Regions from separate parts of the Homo sapiens genome. Here region 2 is linked to region 1. The links are contacts of gene promoters, found by promoter capture Hi-C in blood cells and fetal thymus (Javierre and others, 2016). All regions are on one chromosome and are shown on one strand. Each heading gives the region's core, a stretch centred on a gene start or on the middle of the fragment in contact. The rest is flanking DNA. Distances are from core to core; before and after follow the strand shown.

Evidence for each region. Contacts are between HindIII fragments. The CHiCAGO score rates a contact against its expected background, and 5 or more counts as called.
Region 2: a contact is called between the fragment with the promoter of TAT here and the fragment with the promoter of CHST4 in region 1, in 1 of 17 cell types (monocytes). The highest score is 6.9, in monocytes.

Annotation. Positions count from the first base shown.
Region 1 is chr16:71,523,965-71,528,857 of GRCh38, forward strand. CHST4 (carbohydrate sulfotransferase 4) reads left to right here and starts at 2,462. Exons shown (of 2, transcript NM_001166395.2): 1 at 2,462-2,531. RefSeq lists an enhancer at 2,095-2,705. The HindIII fragment of the contact is 27,165 bases long and covers 1-4,893 here.
Region 2 is chr16:71,575,842-71,580,734 of GRCh38, forward strand. TAT (tyrosine aminotransferase) reads right to left here and starts at 1,251. Exons shown (of 12, transcript NM_000353.3): 1 at 1,168-1,251; 2 at 340-586; 3 at 81-185. The coding sequence starts at 574. The HindIII fragment of the contact is 5,727 bases long and covers 847-4,893 here.

The sequences.
Region 1 (4,893 bases), core at 1,212-3,711:
AAAAAATGAGGAATGCTAGAGCCCCCATAAGAAAAGAAACTCAAGGAAGCATCACTGTCCTTTCAGTGTCACTAGGGACAGAAAAGATATGTAGGTAAGTGTGGAAGTGAAGAAACTGCAATCTCATTTGGAGTGATGGTCAGGGTAAGGTAGCAGGAGTAGGTAGTATAACCAGCAGAAAGATCCTTTTGACCCCTGAGAAAATCAGAGTCTAGGTCAGTAGCTGACCCCAGGTCTCTTCACCACTCAGGTGGGTCCCCAGACAGTAAAGATGGTAAACTTCCAAGGGCAAAGATGAGATCAGCGACTCCGCTGAATAGTGGTCCCCAGGAGACAATTGTCTAAATCACTTCAAGTACACACAGCCTTTTGTACGGATTTTAAACTTGGGATTCCTTGGCATTGCACATGATTTTGTGTTTGTATATGAGCAATTGTACATTTTTCTACAGAGGTCTATATCTGTTATCAGATTTTGGAGACTCAAAAAGAAAAAGATTAGATCTCTTACTTGACTGCACGATCCAATATGGTTGCACTAGCACGTTTCAGGTGGACAGTGGCTACTGTATAGTGCAGATATGGAACATTTCCATCATCACAGAGACTGTTATTGGACAGTGCTGCCTTAGAGACGTGGGCTGCAGGACTTCCACAAGAAGGCCTGGATATCAGACACCAGCATTCAAATTTCTTCCCAGTGCTGTGGAATGTGGTAGACCCTTGGAAGTCCAGTATCTGAACATGCTGGTCACCACCGTATACTAGTGACCAGAGGATGCCTTTCTTCAGCTGCTTGGCATTCTGCCAGCATGAATTCCTAGCACGGGAAAGATGGCAGGTGATCTGAATTACTTGGGGTTATGGTGTATTTGAGTGACCTCACTATATTTGGGAAGGCGCTGGAAAAACACGAAAAGAATGTTAGAAAGGGCTGGAATAAAACTACAGGAGTCCCCTCTTTATCCACGGTTTTGTTTCCCAGTTTTAACTACTCATCATCAACCACGATTTGAAAATATTAAATGGGAAAATTACAGAAATAAACAGTTCATTTATTACATACTATTCTGAGTAGCATGATGAAGCCTTGTGCCATCTCGCTGTGTCGTGCCAGCACCTGAATCATCTCTTTGTGCATAAAAGCAAAACTACCGACTGCCCAGTTCTAGTGCTTCCAGTTACACCTCTGCCCAAAGTCCTTCACTGGAGGAAGAGAAATTTCTCTTCTCTCTGCCAGAGAGAAACAGGAAGGGAGGAAGAGCCACACAATTGAAATCAAGTCAAGGCAAGCACCACAGGTTCTTGTCATTTGTGCTTAGCGGACTTAGCTGATGGAAATCGGCAAAGATCATCCCAAAGCTCACACAACTCCCTGCCTGCTCTCTCTCTCTTCCAAGGTCTGGAAAAGGAAGTGGCAGCTGAGTTGCGGGGGTGGGTGGCGGTGGGAAGGTATTATTATTCAACCACTTTTTAACTCTTATATTGTCATATTATTGTGTTAGGAGCTTCATACGCATTAATCCTAACATTCACAACAATACTGTAAAATAGATATTGTTACCCTTATTTAACACCGATGATATTCTAGGGCTCAAAGAGGTGGTATGACTTGCCCGGCAAGATCTTGGACTTGAAAGTCTGAGGCTTCCATTCTCCACCACAATTTACGTTTATTCACGGGCATCCATTGTTTCAGACTCATGACAACCGTGTAAAGTAGCACGGAGTAGGTAAGTGATTTGCCCAAGGGCACACAGCAAGGGAGAGGTTGTAATCTTTAATGATAATTTGTTTCTTTTTTTCTTAAAGGGGACTTTTTTTTCTCCTGTACCACCAAGCCAGTACATCTATGTCCTCCCAGAAAATATTTATTACCTCTTGTAGCAAGGGTGAAGATATTGAATACAACACAGAGGCTGAGAAATGTTACCTCCCTAGACCCAGGGTGGAGTGAGCAGGCAGGTGTAATGCAAGAAATAACTTTCACATTTTCTCCTTGGAGATAAGAACAAGGTCTAAAAATCAGGTTTGAGATTTTGTAGCCTTTCGGCTTGTAAGTGTCATGAAATTTCCCTATCAGCCTCATCTACTAGCTCCCTGGGTCTCTCTCTCTCTCTTTCTCTTTTTCCCCACCTCCCCACTCTGCCCATAGGGAGTTGACCTTCACAGTTGCCTTTCAGTAGTCAACATGCCAGGATGCCTCCAGTCTGGGGGAAAATGCTTCCTCATTTGCTTCTCCCAGCCCACCTCAAGCAGTCTCCCCACCCCTTGAGTCTCAGCAGTGTTAAAGCTGTTACTTTCACAGCTTCCTGGGAGCGAGTGCTTTCTCAAGCCCGTCTTGCAAGGTGGGTCCTTTTTTGTTTTTGGCAGAAGGGAGGGACAGTGAAATGTGCTCTGAGTAGGGACGGTTATGCAAAAGCAAGTAGGAGGAGGAAGCCAAGAGGGGAGTTGGTGAGTCAGAGGAGAAAAGCGCATGGCCCGGCTAGCAGTGAGCCTCTCAAAAGCAGCAGGGAAGCCCAAGCCACAAGGTAAGAAGAGAATTTCTGTGTACGACTCCAATGCAGAGCCATTACCCAGAGCTGCTGGAGCAAGAGTATCAGATAACCTCTGGCAGCTAAGCTAGAGATTACAGTGGCGAAGGCGGTTTGCGCAGAGGGGATAAATCAGATCACCTGGGGAATTTTCTGGGTAAAATAAAACACAAGCTGCTTACCAGCAGCCCCCAAGCCCCACTAGCTCTATCCCTAAATGGGTCCAAAAGAGCCCAGAGAGCAGATCAGGCTGTTCTGATGTATATTTTGTAGATGGTCCCCTGGTGCCAACTGACTCGTTCAGATCCTGGCTTTGGAGCTCAAATTTCTGTACTTCCTGCAGCTTCTCCTCTGTTTTCTGCTGGGGAGTGGAAGACAGGAGGTGCAAGGAGCTGTAGGTTTTCTCTAGCTCAGGAGAGGGACAGTGTGATCATTGAAAATTCTCAGCCCTGGGATCCCCAAAACCTGGGTTCTGATCCAGAAAAGGCTATTTATACCGGATGAGCCAGTCAATTAAAGTTTAGTTTATTTATTCTGAAAAATGAAGAAATGTCTCATCACTGTCTAAAATATCTAACCGATCAGTATCATAATTGCAGCTAAAAGGGCTTTAAAAATGTGGAACACCACGCACATGTGCAATATGATTAAGTTATGGTGCCAACATATCAGCTATGGTAGAAGATACGTCTATCTTGCATGGCCTTGGACAAGTATGAAACTTCTAATTGGAATTGAAATACTTTTCTATGTGTAAAATAAATGTAATATTGTCGATGAAAAGAGTCAGACTCTGTGACATATTTGAAGAGATTTATTCTGAGCCAAATATGAGTGACCATGGCCGGTGACACAGCCCTCAGGAGGTCCTGAGAACATGTGTCTAAGGTGGTCGGGGTGCAGCTTGGTTTTATACACTTTAGGGAGACATGAGACTTCAATCAAATACATTTAAGAAATACATCTAGCCAGGCGCGATGGCTCGCGCCTGTAATCCCAGCACTTTGGGAAGCTGAGGCAGGTGGATCACCTGAGGCCAGGAGTTCAAGACCAGCCCGGCCAACATGGCGAAACCCTGTCTGTACTAAAAATACCAAAAAAATTAGCTGGGCATGGTGGCAGGCACCTGTAATCCCAGCTACTCAGGAGGCTGAGGCAGGAGAATCGCTTGAAACCGGGAGGCTGCAGTGAGCCGAGATCCTGCCATTGCACTCTAGCCTGGGCAACAAGAGCAAAACTCCATCTCAAAAAAGAAAAAAGAAAAGAAAAAAGTACGGGTCTGTCGCCCAGGCTGGAGTGCAGTGGTGCGATCTCGGCTCACTGCAACTGAGAGGAAGCCTTCAGATAGCAGGCTTCAGAGAGAATAGGTTGTAAAATGTTTCTTATCAGACTTAAGGTCTGTGTTGGTGTTAATGCTGGAGAGGTATGATGAGGCATGTTAGATCCCCACTTCTTGTCATGGCCTGAAACAGTCTCTCAGGTTAAATTTTAAAAAGACCCCTGGCTGGGCACAGTGGCTCATGGGTGTAATCACAGCACTATTAGGAGACTGAGGTCACTTGAGGTCAGGAGTTCGAGACCTGCCTGGCCAACATGGCAAAACCATGTCTGTACTAAAAATACAAAAAATTAGCCAGGTCACTCGGGAGGCTGAGGCAGGAGAAGCGCTTGAACCTGAGGAGTCGAGGTTGCAGTGAGCTGAGATCGTGCCACTGCACTCCAGCCTGGACAACAGAGCAAGACTTCATTTCAAAAAAAAAAAAAAAAAAAAGAGTCCTGGCTGAGGAGGAAGTCCTTTCAGATGGTTGGGGGGCCTTAGAATTTTATTTTTGGTTTATAATATCTTGCTCAATCTTCCTTTCTGGGTCTCATATAGTAAAAAAAAAAACACTGTACAAATATATGTTCACTTGTCATTTGTTGAAAGATGTTCCTTGAGCACCTACTATGTGCCATGCACTGTCCTTGGCACTAGTGACACAGCCCTGGCGGGACCCAGGTCCAATCCTCCTGACACTGTCTAGGAAGAGTTTGTTATATGGACACCCTTTACCCAGGTGCCTAGCTTCAGAGGTTTTCCAGGTCTTCAGGCTGCTTGTGAGGATGCCAGTTTCCCCAATCCAACCCCATTCTCTCTCTCTTTGCTCAAGGTATCTTCTGCTGTATCTAATTTCTACTTGTAAGGGGCATAATCTCATGGGAAGTGTAAGTTAGGAATGCATCCAGTGGCTGGAACCCAGACTTCTTAAATTAGTATCTATCTGGTTTTTTTCCCCCTCAGAATTTCCCATTTTGTCTCTACGAGGCTACATGGTACCGATTTGGGGGACATCTATAATTCAGCCCACTCTAATCAGCT
Region 2 (4,893 bases), core at 1-2,500, 51 kb after region 1:
GATTGCTAGACATTTAGTCCTGTTATAAGAGCACTAAAGATTTGGCAGTCACCAGGTATGGAGTCTCAGGAGGAGCTTACCGATGGATGGGGCATAGCCATTATATTTGCCCGAGTCCAGGGCATCTTTCATTGCCTGGGTAACTTCAGGGTCTGTAGGCAGGTTTCCAAACACAGTAGGGTCCCCTTTTTATGGGAGGAAAACACAAAAGGAGCCAAGAGGTTATTCTCCCATGTTCAGTACTCAGACTCACCCCCAACTGCCATCTTCTCCAACCAGCCTGTGAACATGAGAGTAGAGGAGGACAATGACAGCCCCTCAGTAGTGTCCCCAACTCACCAATGGACAGGGAAATCATGGTTTTGTTTGGATTTGGTTTCACCTTCATGTTGTCCACAATGGCTCGGATGGGGTTGAAAGTTTTCTTGGCCATGTCTGAGGGCCTCACAGACCACCTGGCCTTTCTGCCTTTCATTTTTCCCGGCACAGAGCTTCTCCCACCAACGTTGACATGCACGTCCAGAATTGAGGGGAGGTTGCCTTTGCTGCTCATCTGAATCATGTATGGGTCCATCACTAGCGAAGCCTGCGAGGGGAAAGAAGTTCCCTGTGATGTTGATAACATAGCGCTGGGGGACAGAGGAGCTACATTTGGACCTAAACATTGGGTGACTTCACTAAAAGTGTCTTTCCAAACTCTCTCTTTATTTTTTTTTCTACTTTCTGTTGTAAAGTAGCTTTACTATGAATGGGGGAGTTTTAAGAGTTTTTACTGAGATGGAAAATAAAGCAAGAACCCATTCTACTTAAGTAGGATTTGCTACACGCATCTGCAATTCCTGTCAAAGCTTAACCATGCTCTATGTGAAACCAAGAAGGAATAAGATGAAAATTGTTCATCAGTCAAAGCATAGGTTCTCCTTCCTTTCCATGCGAGCCTATCCAAGAAAATCTACCTAATGCTTCTTGTCATCTGCAGAGGACCAGGAAGAACCACTCCATCTTGTTAGAAGTTCCATGTAAATATCATTGTTAGTAAAAGTAAAACCTTATCCCATAAGCATGTTACAGCCCTAGCTGGAAAAAGAAATCAATACACCAAAAAGAAAAAAATTAACAGCTCAATCAGTCACCACTGCCTGATCAGCTTGGGCTTGAGATTTTTACCTTCCAAGTAAAGGAGAAAGCAGCCTCCAAGAAGCCAACCCCGAAAGCTCCCTTAGCTCTTCTTTGACAGGTTACAGGGGCAATGAACTCAGATGCAAATCCTAACTCCTGAAATAGTCTCCACAAATGGGCGTTGGGCTTGAAACTTTCATGCCATTGGTTGGAATGACAACTCAGCAGCCAGCTCTCCCCTCAGCTTCTTTCCTCCTCTCCCCCGTCATTGCCTCTCATCCCTAAGCCCACCTCCCACCCTCAAAGCAGGAATTTGTCCTCACTTCAAACATCTGGAATTCTCCTGTGTTAACTCTTTCTGGGCACTTGGTGAGATGGTTTGAGAACATCTACTGTCAGAAAGTACTTCTGGTTACAGTTGATAGCTTTTATTAAATTTTTTTTACAAAACAGCCTGTTAAAATTTTAACAGTACAGAAATATATAAAGTAAGAAGTGAGCATTCTTCCTTGCACCTGCTCCCTGTACACTTCATTCTCACTCCCAGGGGTAGAGGGTGGTAATGGTCAGGCTCTTTCCCTCCATTCAGAGATAGATACATTACATATAGGTGCATAGATACATAATTTCATAGATTTCAAAACACAGATAGGATCGTGCTCTACACCTTGTTTGGCAACATTTTTTTTTTAACTTCCTACATCTTGGACGCCCATCCTTGTCAGTCCACAAAGTTTTGCTCCAATCAGAACAAATTGGGCACTTAAGTTCCATTCAACAAATAGCTGAAAAGCACAGGGTGTCCAAGGCAGCTGAAACCTGTGCAGTTTTATCCTTGCACTGTGCATGAATTCTTCATTTACCTCCTATGGTTGTTGGAAGAATTTAAAATGTCAGGTGCGATCCACACAAAACAACTTTGCTAAGCAAAACACAAGGTCCACAGCCAAAATCTCAACATTCCTGTGAGCAGATGGAAAATACCACCCACTGAAGGGTTAAGAGAAGCCTCAGTGATCTCCCCAGGGCTCAGATCCTGTCTGTTTATTTGTTGGAAGACAAAGATTTTTCACATCAGTTTGTTCTTCTCCATTCACTTTTCAGGGAGTCAAGCCTCCAGTGGGGTTGAATACAGTAGTCCCCCCTTATCCACAGGGAGCACACTCCAAGACCTCCAGTGGATGCCTGAAATTATGGATGTCTGAAACCATGGGTAGTACTGAGCCCTAGGTACACTATGTTTTTTCTTATACAGTAATGGCAGGTAACGTCTATAGCATGGATACACTAGAAAAAATTATTCACGTCTTGGGCCAAGGGCATCCTTGTCATAAATGTTAGTTTACATATTTGATTATTTCCTTAAGACAGATTTCTATACAAGGACTGTGTTGCAAAGAATAAGCATTTCTCTTTTACATTTTTAGTAAATATGATATATCCTTATATAATAAATTCAAATAGAGATGTACGTGAATTAAACCCTGATCACCTTCCCTCCCTGCATTCTCATTTTATATAAAAAAATCATTTTTAGTCATTTCTTGTGTACCCTTCCAAATGTTTTCTATGTTTATTACAATACGTATAAAGCTGGTTTGGGAGTTGCTAAAAAAATGGAGAGTAAACGTGGTCTATAGTTGCACTGTCTAATATTGTAGCTACTAGTCATAAGTGGCCGTTGAATACTTGAAATGTGACTGGTCTGAATTAAGATGTGTTGTAAAATACACATCAGGTTTTGAAGACTTAGTATAAAAAAAGAATGTTAATATCTCATATAATTTTGTATGATTACATGTTTAAAGAATATTTTGGGGCTGGGCATGGTGGCTCACACCTTTGGTAATCCCAGCCTTTCGGGAGGCCAAGGTGGATGGATCACTTGAGCTAAGGAATTCAAGACCAGCTTGGGCAACATAGTGAAACCCCGTCTATACAAAAAGATACAAAAACTAGCCAGGCATGGTGGCATGAGCCTATAGTCCCAGCTACTTGGGAGGCTGAGGTAGGAAGATCACCTGAACCCAGGAGGTCAAGGCTGCAGAGAGCTGTGATCATGCCATTGCACTCCAGCCTGGGTGACAGAATGAGACCTTGCCTCAGAAAAAAAAAAAAAAAAAAATATATATATATATATATATATGTATATATATATATAAAATGTATTTTATTTTACTCAGTACACCGTATATATATAATAAAATATATAATAAAATATATGATAATAAAATACATGGTGTGCTGAGTAAAATAAAATACATTCTTAAAATTAATTTCACCTATTTGTTTTTATATCTTAAAATATTTCTATTAGGAAATTTGAAGTCACTATGTGGCTTGCATTCTGTCTATTGGACAGGGCTGTTCTGTAGCTTGCTTTTTTTAAAATCTTAATAATGTGTGGGCTGGGCGTGGCAGCTCATGCCTGTAACCCCAGCACTTTGGAGGCCAAGGCAGGCAGATCATCTGAGATCAGGAGTTCAAGACCAACCTGGCCAACATGGCAAAACCCCATCTCTACTAAAAATACAACAATTAGCCAGGCACAGTGGTGCACACCTGTAATCCCAGCAACTCAGGAGGCTGAGGCAGGAGAATCGCTTGAACCCAGGAGGTGGAGGTTGTGGTGAGCCGAGATCGTGCCACTGCACTCCAGTCTGGGCGACAGAGTGAGACTCCGTCTCAAAAAATAAAAAATAAAAATAAATAGCCTGGTGTGGTGGCTCACGCCTATAATCCCAGCACTTTGGGGTTGCTGAGGCAGGCGGATCACGAGGTCAGGAGATGGAGACCATCCTGGCTAACACCGTGAAACCCCATCTCCGCTAAAAATACAAAAGTTAGCCCAGCCTGGTGGCGGGTGCCTGTAGTCCCAGCTACTCGGGAGGCTGAGGGAGGAGAATGGCATGAATCCGGGAGGTGGAGCTTGCAGTGAACTGAGGTCGCGCCACTGCACTCCAGCCTGGGCGACAGAGCCAGACTCTGTCTCAATAAATAAATAAATAAAATAAAAAATAAAGCATATCGAATGTCCTTGTACATTCATGATTGATAGAGAACTTTTATGCATATCCTGTTATTTGAGGGATAGTTTCAATTACGGACTATACAAAGACGAAAGCAATGCAAATATGTTTAATTTGAACAACCTCTTGGAGTTCAGACTACCTGTCATGACAATATACTGTGCTTGAGAGATGACACAGGTACCTCACTGAGTGTTACTGTAGTGGTTCTCCAGGTGGACAGAGACTCAGAGGTGTTAAAAAAAATTATTCAATAACACTTGTTAAAGCATGGTAAGGCAGACTTTATTCAGGACCATTCCAATAGCTAGACGGCCCACTGCAATGGATTTTCCAGTGGGGAAGAGAAATTGGATTCAACTCCAAATATGGTGATGGCAAGTGTGGATTTATAGCCAAGGATGGAAAAAGTAAGAGGAATCATCAGGAGTAAGGGGGATTCTGCTAAACTGACCTAGAAGGCCAGTGTCAGTGTCATCCTGCTGAAGACAGGCCATGGTGACCAAACATTCCCTGGGGGACGGCAAAGAATGAGGAACCTGGTCAGATATGCAGGGTGGGAAATCTTGCCAAAATGACTCAGGGTTCTTTGCTAAAACTGGATCTTGCAAGGAAGTGCAGATGGGCTTAGAAGAAGATCCAGAAGCCTGACAAAAGTCTGGTCAATCAGAGAATCTTTGTCAGAGGTTGAGACCACTGGTCTTTAAAAGAGATCAAGTAAGAATCAGATTTTTCTCAATGTGAG